Regions from separate parts of the Homo sapiens genome. Here region 2 is linked to region 1. Evidence: promoter capture Hi-C in 16 types of primary human blood cells and fetal thymus (Javierre and others, 2016). All regions are on one chromosome and are shown on one strand. The core of a region is centred on a gene start or on the middle of the fragment in contact, and the rest is flanking DNA. Distances in the headings are between cores, read along the strand shown.

Region 1 (6,357 bases), core at 1,483-3,982:
GGAAGAGGTGGGATCTCGAAATGGAAACAGTCCCCCCTTCCTCCCCCCTCCCCTCCTCCTCCTCCTCCTCCTCTTCTTCTGTTTACCTCAAGTTTGAATTTTATCTGCGCAACATTAGCTGGAATGCGGACATTGAAAAAAAAAAAAAAACACTCTCTCAGCCCGGCAGCAGCTCCGGAGGAGCCATGTGGCATCAAGCCACAGCAAAGGGGAAAAAGTGCTCTTAGCAACACAAACATGGCGAAATCGCTCTCACAAGCCGGGTTCCCGCGACAGCCCTACCTTCCCCCGCTCGCCTTCCGAACGTCCTGGCCAGGAACCGCAGACCCCTTCCGGGGGACGGCGAGGGGGCCCCGGGCTGAGCGAGGGTGGGCGCACGGGGCGTGCTAAGGGGAAATTGACTAGCCAGCCGATCAGCTCCGCCGGCAGCGGAGGGGACGCCTTCTTCACGCCCTGAGATCGCAAAGGAGAGCAAAATTCCCATCCCAAAGTCCTGCGGGACCGGCTTCCCCACCCGACGAACTTACCCCAGGGCTGAACGCACGCTGCTTTAGCTCCTTGCCTCGTTCCTTCCTCCCGGGCGCGACGCGAGGTGAAAATGATGCGCACGTAGATTTGTAGAGCGTATTCTTGAGAATTTCCCTGGGATGAATCGGGAGGAGCGGTGGAGACTCCGGAGACAGGTGCCGCGCTGGTCTGGGCTGCCGGCTAAAAGTTGTCCTCCGCGCGGTGGGCGGTGGGGTCCCCGGCCAGGGCCAAGGACCCCGGCTCCCTGCCCCCCGGCGTCGCCCACTTGTCACGCCAGGCTGCTGCGTGCACTCGGCTGCAGGGGAGGTGGCGTAGTTTCTCTTCCTCCCACCTCTTCTCACTCACTTGTTTTTGTAGCCGTGGGCTCCCCTAATGCTTTCCTCTCCACAATGTTGTTTCATTATATCATGTCCATCATGTGACACCAGAGAGGCCTCTCTATGGAAACTTAAAGGGGCTCCCACGTGACTGCAGCAGCAACAACAGCAGCAGGACTGGCGGCGGCGGCCGCAGCGGCGTCCGTACCTCCACCCACCGGGAGCCCCTCGAAGCATCCCGGAGGGGCTTCTGGCGCTGCAGGAGCCCCGATCGGGGAGCCACAGCATCCGGGAGCCGTGGTGTCTGTGCGTGCGTGGAGCCTGTGCTCATGACATAGGAAGCCGAACAGAAGGAGCGTCCTCAAATCCTTTCCTACAGTCACCAAACCCACGCTCTGTTAAAATGACATTTCGTGGCTCCTACTTTGTTTCCCCGGAGAGCAATGAGTTTTCTATCAGGCCTGATTTAGTTTGACAAAAGTCAAAAAGAAAAACTGGATTTGTCCCTCTGCGAGTTCAGTCAGATCGCTGGGAAAACAGAAATGACAAAACAATAATAACAGAAATAGAACCAGGCATTTGATACATAATTACCATCACCACGGCTTTCAAGCTTTCTGGAATTACGTTCCTCCAGTAACTGTTGATGATGCTTGCAGGAGGCAAAATGCAATGCAGTTTTTCTCTTCCGCAGCTATATTAGGGCTTTGTTGCTGACAACAGTGAAAACTTGTTTGTGTCAGGAAGTGAGGTACGGAGATATGACCTGGAAGGTACAGACAAAACCAAAGTGGCAGTTTTTGCATTACTTTTCTGACCACATTCTTTCAAATGGTGACAAGAAGGCGGTCTGCTGTAAAATTCGTGGGGTGTTTGATGGGAAACAAAATAATCAGAAAAACATAATTATCCCTAGCCATACCATACTTGCTAGACGCTAGAAAGTATACATATATGTAATCTCTGTATACATAGAGAAAGCAAAAAGCATGTGCACTTTAATATTTTTGAACCACTAATTTTGTCATCATTTGTACCATTAACAAACACTTGGAAAGACTCACTCAAGTCCAGGGATGTGTGGAAACTCACAATGTTGAGTGCTGTGGGTATTACTGACTCACAGTCCCTTAAAGGGTTTGTACCATAAATCCCAAATTTCTGCCTTAAAGTTTTTACAGACATGGAGATTTTATCCTGTAAATCTAAGCCAGATAGCTATTTCTGGGTTTTTTAGTTCATGCTTTTCCATTTTATAAAGGAAACTGTGTGGATTGGCGGAATCAAGAAAAACTTCGCAAGAAACTGAAGAGTGGGATGGAAGATCTTTTCGTTTGGCCTTGCCTTGACTCTGTCTCTCTCCACCTCATCAGTTTACTTCATCAGCCATGATGAATGAGCTCCATTCCAACCCTTCTAATTCTATAATATCTCTCCCAAGTTTTACCTTCCTATCTCATGCCTAATTCTTTTCATCCCTTTCCTCCTACCTCCCTTGCCTCCCAACTCAGCCCCTTTTCTGCCTGGGGGCTCAGCTCGGGCCTCCCCAAAGACTGTACCCCCCACCCTCCCCTGCAGCTACCCCCACCCCCACGCCCTTCCCAGCTCGGCCTCTCTTCTTTGCAACTCTACCTCCTTACCTCTTTTGACCTCTAATCACCTTCACAGTCTGGCCCTTGACTTCTGGGCCTCTTCTTACCTCTCTTTACCTGAAATGTCCTGGCCCTCACTGGGGTCTCCTCCACACCCTTCTCTCTGGTCCCATCCCTTCTGCTGCCAAGCCCCAGCGTTCCTCCGGCTCGGCCTGGTCAGCTTGAGCCTCATTTTGTTCGCGTGCCCCTGGGCTGGGAAAGGAGTGTGTGGTGCACAGTGGGGCCAAGGATCCCCTGGGGCCGCGGCCTCTGCCTCGCCCCCTCCACCCCTCCCGAGTCCCGGTTGCGGCGCTTCCTGGGCGGATGGCTTGAAATTGCTGCAGCAGCTGCGGTTCTGCTGTGTCATGCAAGAAGGAGGCGGCGGCGGCGGCGGCGGCGGCCGGAGCTGGAGGGGGAGGAGGGGAGGAACCTGATCCTCCGGTAGCGAAGGGCTAGAGGCAAACACCGAGCTCCTCCAGAGCCGCCCGGGAGCAGGGAGGGCTCCGCTAGCCCGGGGGGCCCTCCCCGCGGGGCAGATGGTAAGTGGGGCGGTGCAGGTGGTCGCCTTGGGAAGGGAGCGCGCAGGGGGGTAAGGTGGGGCGGCGGGAAGTGCTAGAAGTCACCCCAGCCAAACTGAAGGAGCCCAGTTTCCAGCTGAGAGGGACCCAGGCCGTAATAAGGATGTCCAGCCAAACGCAGCAATAATTACTATTGGAGTGACGCCCCGAAGTTGACCCCAAGCTACACAGAGGGTGGAGTGGTGCATCCTGAACCCAGGACAGAGCTGGAGGCAATGATTCAGGGTTTGAGAAGTATCAGCCCATCGGCCTGGCGCTTTAAGGTGCAGCTGAGTAGGAAAAGCCAACCCACATCATATTCCCAGAGCCTTGCTGCGCTTTCTGGGTTGTCTTGTTCAAAACTAGTGAAAGGGATGGGAAACCTGCCCAACCTCACTTTAGCCACGAAAATAATGCTCTTGGCCAGTGGCCTTGGACAAACAGCCTCTGGTGCAACAAAACAATCAATAGGAAGAAGAACTTCATTCCCCTCACCATCCTCCTTCCCCAAGTTCCTTTGACCAGCATACCTCATTCGGCTTAAAGGAGAAAGAAAACTATGTGTGACATTCCCTCCCAGCCTACCTGCAGCCAGCCTCCTCACCACACAAACTGCCCATCCCGCTTCTCTCCTCATCTTCAGAGCCATGATTCCAAGAGACATTGCAATACTACTCACTTTAGGTGAGAAGACTGCCTGAAACTCTGAACAATTTCACCTCCCTTGCCCTTTGCCACAGGGGATTCAGAAACCTACAACTGAGAGCAGGGAAATATACGGACAGGCTTGGCACGTAGGAACATTACTTCCTTCACTGGAGTGTAGTTCTCCAGACAACTTTTTAATTATGATTATTCCCTTCCATTGCACTCCTGGAAATTTCAAAGCACTTTCTAAAACATCATTTTTTTTATGTCAGTCATACATTTAGAGGTAAGGGGTTGATGGGATTAACTGAAAGGCTAATGACTGTCTCAAAAGCACATGCTGTTGCTAGGGAACCCAAGCTCCTGCTGCTCTCTAATCACCAGCGTGTTCCGTGGAAATCAAACTGCTCAGGGTGTTATTAAAATGAATGGCATCGGGTTAAAGGCATTCTTGCTTATGTTGTAGCATCCTGGATTATTATCGATTGCCTCACACCCACATATCTTGTTTTCCTAATTTGATTTCTGTATTTGCGTCACTGCCAGGGACACTCAGACTAGACCAGTCAGTTCACTTCCTGTTTCTCAGAACTGGTTTATATTTGGTCTCGTAGCACTAGCTGGTAAAACATTATCAAACTGATCCTCTTGGAAAGAAATCTTTGCTTCCCATTGAAAACAAAATATTCCAATTAAATTGTAATTCCTGTGGAAAACGTCATCATTTGAGGAGTAGACTGCCAGTTGCCATTTGAGAAACAATCCTTGAAATGTAAAGCCTAGAAAAAAAAAACATCATCTTGATTTCTTTTACCCAGAATCTTCATTCCTCAGCACTAGAACTAAGACAAACTCGAGTAAAGAGTAGATTTAAGTATACTTCTAAAATGAAACGCATAAATAAATAAATAAATAAATAAATAAATACATGTCGAAGCTGGGGAAATCATTTAGACTAAACAAGGCATAAAATTGAATGGAATCCAGGCCCAGGAAGGACAAGTAATTTTGGGTTAGCATTGTGGCATTCGGAGAACACAGTGTGACTACAAGGCTACACTACAAATAGGAAACCCCATCACTTTGTGTACTAATTGTCTTTTTTACCAATTCCTCTATGTCCCTGGACAAGACAACCTTGTTTTGTTTTGTTTGTTTTCAGTTCCTTCCTCTTTATAACAAGGATATTGCAAAGGCAATATCAGAAAGATAAGCCCTATGTAAATAGGTGGATTCTGATGTAGATAATTTGTTTAGATGGAAAATGAAGCCCTTTGAAAAAGATGTATAATGGCATCGATAGCCTGGATGACCTTGAGTGAGCCATTGTAGGTCTTATGTCAGTTTCTTCGTGGAAGCTTAAATGAAAGTGCTGGACTAAAGGATTTCTAAGGTTCCTCCCATTTACAAACTTCTGTGATGAGATTGAACTCACTACATAAAAATTTCAATTTTAGCTGGATTTTGCAATGTTAAATTTAAGCACTGAACCTTTAATATCTATCCATAGGAACCTTGAGGGAAATGATGGGAAATGACTTTCTATTGATGTATCCATTTTTAGTGTCTGTTGACAGAAAAATAAAATTTACCTTGCTCCCCATGTACTTAGTCTCTCCCTGCCTCAGTGGTATTATGGAAGCAACAGGATAAGAGTTACAAAAGGATATAAAAGTATAGAGAAAGTTCTTTCAGTCTACTCACTTATTTATTATGACAACGTGTCACTGTGTTACCCAGGCTGGCCTCCAACTCCTGGGCTCAAGCAAGCCTCCCACCTCAGCTTCCTGAGTAGCTGGGGCTACAGGTGCACTCAACCATGCCTAGCCTTTCAGTCATTTTAGATATAGGTAATCCTAAGTACTCTGATGATCAAAGTGGTGGAATGATGGAGGAAGGGGTGTACAAAAAAATAATCAACTGAATCCTCATGGAACTAATAATAATCTATTTGCCTGTGTTTTAATTAGTGCTAGGCAAAAATAGACCTAGCTCAGCTCTTGGAATTTTTCAAATTCACAGTATTGAGAAGTAGCATGAAGAAATGTGAGATTTGTGCCAGAGAGAAAAGACCTGACTTTGAAACCCAACTCTGCCACTTTATTCATTATTGAGTGCTTGCTGTGTGTCAGGTACTGTGCTGGGTGCTGGGAATACAAAGATGAATAAGACACAGTTTCTGCTCTGAAGGACATTATAGTATCATGAGAACAAAGATGAATATACAGTTGATCACGCAACAGTGAGATGATATCAACAGGGGAGCTCATAAGAATGGTGCCTAACCCTGACCACGCATAGGGTCTCTAACCACACAAGGTGAATCTTGAGATGCGTTCTGAAGGATAAGTAGAAGTAAGCCAGACAAGTGGGCAGGTTACAGGGAAAGATATTCCAAGCAAAGAAAGTACTATGTGTAAAGACCTTAGGGAAAAAGCTGTGTGCAGGGAGTTGAGGGTGAAGAACAGAGCCTGGCAAGTAGGTTCTAAATAAATACATTGTATAAATGCATGGCAGAAGTCCTGGAGGAGAAATCCAGAAAGATTAGCATGGTTGAGTATGTTATCCTAAAAAGTTTGAACTTATTCTAAGGCCAGTGGAGAACCACTGATGAATTTTAAGGGGCATAGTGAACTGATCAAATGTTCATTTTAGAAAGATCTCTCAGCTGGGTGC
Region 2 (6,357 bases), core at 2,288-4,787, 1.0 Mb before region 1:
CAGTCTGCCAAGTAGCTGGATTAGAGGTGCGGGCCACCACGTCCGGCTAATTTTTTGTATTTTTGGTAGAGATGGGTTTTTGCCATGTTGGCCAGGCTGGGCTCGAACTCCTGGCCTCAAGTGATCCTTCCGCCTCAGCCTCCCGAAGTGCTGGGATTACAGGCGTGAGTCACAGCGCCCAGCCAGCCCCATGTTCCATTTTTCATCCTTCTCTACCAAGACTTCCAGTTACTGATACTTAGAACCTTTTCTTACTTTTTACATCTCAACCCTCCATCCAGCCCCCAATGAAACCAAACAAAACAACCTGGTCTTCCTGGAGTGTTCTCATTCTCTTTCAGTGATAGCTTCTTTATCCATCCAGTTATGCAAACTTGAAACTTGGTCATCCTCCTCAATATTTTCTTCTCCGTTGCACTTCAGGTGTAATCATTTACCAAGTCCGTTTCTTTTACTCCTGCCATAACTCCAATCCACGGTGCCACCATCCCTCACTTAGGTCTCCTGCAGGAGCTTTTTAAGCAGTATTCGTGCTTCTACTCTTGCCCTTCAATTCATATAGCACACCAGTCTTTTTGCAAGCCCAAATACATTCTCATCCCTGCTCACAACCTTTTTATTGCTCTTAGGATAAGGCAAAAATCTTTAACATGGCCTCAAAGGCACTGTGTCGTCTGACTCCTCTCTAACTCTACAGTTAATCCTGTGTTACGTTCTCTTGGTCATTGATCTTTTTCTGCCCCCTTGGATGTATCATGCTTCCTCCTGCCCCAGGTCCATTGCACAAGCTTTTCCGTCATCCAAGAACCTTCTTACTCCTCATTCCATTCTCTTGTTTTAACTTCTCTTCCATTAGATCTCAGTTTGATCAAAATGTTTTTTTACATGGAAGCCTTCCGTGACTTTCTGACTTGGTCTCTTCTCTCTGTAACACTCATAGCATCATGTGGCTCTCCTTGGGCATACTTTACCATTTGTGTGTGATTCCTTGATATGCATGATTTGATACTCTTGAGATGTATGTGCGTATACATATACACACATATGCGTATATATATGCCATATACATATACATATATTTTTAAAATTCTAAATTAACGCATTGGCATTATATATAACACGTTAGTGTCTAGTGAGTTTGGTTAGTGTGGTTCAATCCTCTAGCCACATTGACTCTGGATAGATGGTTAAAATCAAGGTTCTCTCTCTTTTTTTTTTTTTTTTTCTGAGATGGAGTCTTGCTCTGTCACCCAGGCTAGAGTGCAGTGGCGCAATGTCACTGCAACCTCTGCCTCCCAGGTTCAAGCAGTTCTCCTGCCTCAGCCTCCTGAGTAGTTGGGATTATAGGTGCGCGCCACTGTGCTACTTTTTGTATTTTTAGTAGAGACGGGGTTTCATCATGTTGGCCAGGCTGGTCTCGAACTCCTGATCTTGTGATCCACCCACCTTGGCCTCCTAAAGTGTTGGGATTACAGGCGTGAGCCACCGTGCCTGGCCAAAATCAGGTTCTTTAATGTAAAGTAGTGGATTAGACTCTGCATCCATTGCGACAGCACAAACAATAGTTTGTGAAACCTTTTTTTAAGCACTTGCCTTTCTCCTGTTTTCTGAAGTTCACTAGTGATTATGTGTTTGCCTCATAGGCCAAGAAATTAATAGCTTTTTACTCCTGGATTTTTACTAACTCATAATTTCTATACACCCAGTAACGAACAGGGAATTGTGCTTTTTGTAGAATAAGTATGCAGAGAGCTCAGGAGCGCGGGGTTCATGGGGCAATGGAATTCAGGTAGCTGTTGTGATTTAACTGTGTGAGTTTGATTAAATACCATGATTAGCTGGGAAAACAGTTAAACATTGTTGCTAACATGGGAACTGGAAAACTGACAAAGAAAAAGAAGGAAAAATGTAACAGTTGGTAAAGCTGGGTAAAAATAATACTGTAGTCTTAACTTAAAAATTTTAAGTAAGTAATGTGTATAAAATCCAAATGATACAAAAAAGTATATGGTAAAAGGCAAGTTTTTCTTCTTCCTTTGACCCCAGCTAATTGACTGCCTTCCCTAGAAGCAACCAATGATACATTTCCTGTATATTTTTTCCAGGTTCAGGGGGGACGGGAGGGACTTTGTGGAGATGGTAGCATTCCTTTGTTTGGATGGGTATTTAAGATGTTTACAATCTTGCTAATACAAATAGTGATACAATGAATAGCCCTATACATATATAACTTTTGCACATGAGAGAGTCTTTCTTTAGGATAAATTTGTAGAAGTACAGTTTCTGGGTCAAAGGATTTATGTTTACTGCTTAAATTTTGATAGATTCTGTCAAATTTCAAGTTTATGTTTCCCTGTTGTTGTTCGAGTGCTGTCTTCCTTGTTCTTTTGGTAACGGAGTGGGTTATCAAACGTTATTTAAATTGTCAGTTTAATAGGAATAGTTTTCTTAAGTGTCTTTCCAATAGGTAGATAAAAGAGCCATTTATTTGTTTCCTTTATCTATAGATCTGTTTATATTTTTTGTTCATTTTTCTATTGGGATGGTTCATATTGTTTATAAAGGCGGTACCCAACCTTTTTGGCACCAGGGACCAGTTTCGTGGAAGACAATTTTTCCATGGACCGGGATGGTGGGGTGGAGGAGTGGGGGGAATGGTTTCAGGATGAAACTGTTCCACCTCAGGTCATCAGGCACTAGAGACTCAAAAGGAGTGCACAGCCTAGATCCCTTGCATGCACAGTTCACCGTAGAGTTAGCACTCCTATGAGAATCTAATGCTTGATCTGACAGGAGGCCAAGCTCTGGCGGGAATGCTCACTCGCCCACCACTCACCTCCTGCTATGTGGCCAGGTTCCTAACAGGCCATGGACCGGTACCAGGGGTCCATGGCCTGGGGCTTGCGGACCCCTGGTTTATAGGAACTCTGTATTTTAATGAAATCAGTTCTTAGCCATTGACACGTTGCAGATATTTTTCACAGTTTTTCATTTGCGTTTTGACTTTGTTTATGGTCTATTTTTTCATCAGAAATTAAATGTTTTAAATGTTTTGTTGTGAAATTTATCAGTCTTTTCAGAGTCTAGGTTTTGTGTCATAAGAAAGGCCTTTCCTATTTTATTATTATTTCTAATTCAAATTAAATATTCTTGTGTTTTCTCCAGGTACTTCTGTAATTTTATTTTTAAGTTAAATGCACTTACCCACACAAAATGTAAGTTAAATAAAGTGTCGAGGTGGGAATCCAACTATACTTTTCTTCCAGATGGCTGCCCAGTTATGGCAGTGTCCTTCATTTAGTTCAGCTTTGCCCTGCTGATTGAAATGTTGTCTATAGGTGTACTTAGTTCCTACAGTTTGAGGTTATTACTGGACTTTTATTCTGTTTCATTGATCAGATTACCTATTTATACCTAATGACTCTATTCCTTGGTTATCATCTTCCCTCATTCTACTTCCCAGAGTTTTCCTGGGAAGTTTTCTTTGTTTATTTTTCTATATGGCTTAGAATTAGCTAACCAAGTCCTGCTCCTCTGTCCTGTTGGCATTTTTATTGGTATTGTATTATATTTATAGATTAATTTAGAGATAATTGACATCGTTTTGAGGTTCAAAAACAGGGTCTATATTCATTTCTTTATGTTCAAGAACAGTATATGTGGCCAGGCATGGGGGCTCACGCCTTTAATCCCAACACTTTGGGATGCTGAGGCAGGCGGATCACTTGAGGCCAGGAGCTTGAGACCAGTCTGACCAACATGGGGAAACCCCATCTCTGCTAAAAATATAAAACTTAGCCGTTCTTGGTGGCAGGTGCCTGTAATCCCAGCTACTCGGGAGGCTGAGGCAGGAGAATTGTTGAACCTGGGAGGCAGAGGTTGCAGTGAGCCAAGATTGTGCCACTGCACTCCAGCCTGGGTGACTGAACAAGACTCTGTCTCAAAAAAAAAAAAAAAAAAAAAAAAAAAAACAGTATATGTATTTATTGTCATTCAAGTATTGTTTTGTATCTATCAACATTAAAAAGTTGTTTATTTTTTTATATAGGCCTCACATTTCTTATTATGTTTATTCCTTGGTGTTTATCTTGTTTGTTGCTATTGTAAATGGGGTTTCTACTACTTTCTTTTTTCTTTTTCTTTCTTTTTTTTTTTTTTTTTTGAGACGGAGTCTTGCTCTGTCGCCCAGGCTGGAGTGCAGTGGCACCATCTTGGCTCACTGCAAGCTCCGCCTCCCGGGTTCACGCCATTCTCCTGCCTCAGCCTCCCAAGTAGCTGGGACTACAGGCACCTGCTACCACGCCCAGCTAATTTTTTGTAGTTTTAGTAGAGATGGGGTTTCACCATGTTAGCCAGGATGGTCTCGATCTCCTGACCTCGTGATCCACCGGCCTCGGCCTCCCAAAGTGCTGAGATTACAGACGAGAGCCACCGCGCCCGGCCGGGGTTTCTACTTTCTTTTATAACTTTTATGTGGTTGTTTGAATATGAGAATGCTATTAAATTTTGAGTATTAATTTTATACCTAGCCACGTTAAGAATTCTAATATTATCTATAATAGTTTCCCAGTTGTTTTTCTAGAGAATAACAGGTATAGCTAAATAATCATATCATTACTGAATAATGATAATTTTATCTTCTCCTTTTCATTTTTTTTTCTTTTTTTTTAAATAGGCCTGGCGTGTTGGCTCATGCCTGTAATCCCAGCACTTTAGGAGGCTGAGGCGGGCGGATCACTTGAGGGCAGGAGTTTGAGACCAGCTTGGCCAATATGGTGAAACCCCGTCTCTACTGAAAACACACACAAAAAAATTAGCCGGATGTGGTAGTGCATGCCTATAGTCCCAGCTGCTCAGGAGGCTGAGGCAGGAGAATCGCTTGAACCCTGGAGGCGGAGGTTGCAGTCAGCAAAGATTGCGCTATTGCACTTCAGCCTGGGTGACAGAGCAAGACTCCGTCTCCAAAAATAAAAAATAAATAAAAATAAAATAAAATAGAGATGGAGTCTTGCTATGTTGCCCAGGCTGATCTCAAACTCCTGGGCTCAAGTGATCATTCTGTCTTGGCCTCCCGGGATTACAGGTATAAGCCTCCGCGCCCTGCCTTCCTTTTCACTCTTTTTTTGAGACAGAGTCTCGCTCTGTCACCCAGGCTGGAGTGCAATGCCGCAGTCTTGGCTCACTGCAACCTCTGCCTCCCGGGTTCACGCCATTCTCCTGCCTCAGCCTCCCGACTAGCTGAGACGACAGGCGCGTGCCACTACACCCGGCTAATTTTTTGTATTTTTAGTAGACACGGGGTTTCACCGTGTTAGCCAGGATGGTCTCGATCTCCTGACCTCGTGATCCACCCTCCTCGGCCTCCCGAAGTGTTGGGATTACAGGCGTGAGCCACCGCGCCTGGCCCCTCCTTTCACTTTTGATACTTATTTCTTTATTTTGTTCAATTGATTTCGCTAGTACTTTCCAAAAATACTAAACAATAAGATAGTAGTGGAGCTTTGTCCTATTCCTTACTTCAATCAGATATTTTTAATGCTTTCCTATTAAGATTAGATCTGGCTTTAGATTGAAGCGTACATATTTTATCATGTTAAAGTATTCAGCTGTTACTGTTTTTTTAAAGTTTTTGTTTTGTTTTGTTTTTGTTTTTTGTTTTTTTTTGAGGCAGAGTCTCACTCTGTTGCCTAGGCTGGAGTACAGTGGCTCGATCTTGGCCCTCTGCAACATCCGCCTCCTGGGTTCAAGTGATTCTCCTGGCTCAGCCTCCCGGGTAGCTGGGATTACAGGTGCCCGCCACAACGTCTGGCTAACTTTTGTGTTTTTGGTAGAGACAGGGTTTCACCATGTTGGCCAGGCTGGTCTTGAACTCTTGACCTCAAGTGATTCGCCCACCTCGGCCTCCCAAAGTGCTGGGATTACAGGTATGAGTCACCATGCCAGGCCTAAAGTATTTTTTTTAATAAATACTTTATTTAAAAAATGTATTTTATTAGAAGTAATGTTGCTAATGCCTTTTCAGCATCTATGGGAATTATAATGTAATTTTTGTCCTTTGATCTATTATTGTGGTAGATTGTATTAATGGATTTATTGTTACTGAACCATTCTTGTGTTCCTGAATTAACTTACTTTGTCGTGGTGTATTAGTATTTTAAACGTACTGCTGGGTTCTGTTTGCTAAACTTTACTTAGAAATTTTGCATCACTCCTCATAGGCGTTTTCATTTTCCTTTCTGTTTTTTTTATTGTGTTATTTTTGTTTCCACTTTTATAAAACTATTTCAAAGCTTGCCTGCCTGCCTGCCTTCCTGCCTTCCTTCCTTCCTTCCTTTTTCCTTCCCTCCCTCCCCCTCC

Evidence for each region. Contacts are between HindIII fragments. The CHiCAGO score rates a contact against its expected background, and 5 or more counts as called.
Region 2: a fragment that was not itself captured here is called in contact with the fragment with the promoter of LINC-PINT in region 1 in 1 of 17 cell types (neutrophils); the score reaches 6.0 in neutrophils.

What each region holds. Positions count from the first base shown.
Region 1 is chr7:131,107,193-131,113,549 of GRCh38, forward strand. It overlaps LINC-PINT (long intergenic non-protein coding RNA, p53 induced transcript), which reads right to left and starts at 2,733. Exons shown (of 8, transcript NR_170176.1): 1 at 2,545-2,733; 2 at 528-1,611. It also overlaps a transcript of MKLN1 not described here. RefSeq lists silencers at 622-671, 692-751, 2,809-2,858, 2,939-3,088, 4,239-4,298 and enhancers at 734-1,585, 3,980-4,521. The HindIII fragment of the contact is 3,581 bases long and covers 1,457-5,037 here.
Region 2 is chr7:130,073,412-130,079,768 of GRCh38, forward strand. The region is part of intron 1 of KLHDC10 (kelch domain containing 10); the gene reads left to right. Among named protein-coding and RNA genes, the nearest start is that of KLHDC10, 6.1 kb to the left of the region's middle. The HindIII fragment of the contact is 5,502 bases long and covers 787-6,288 here.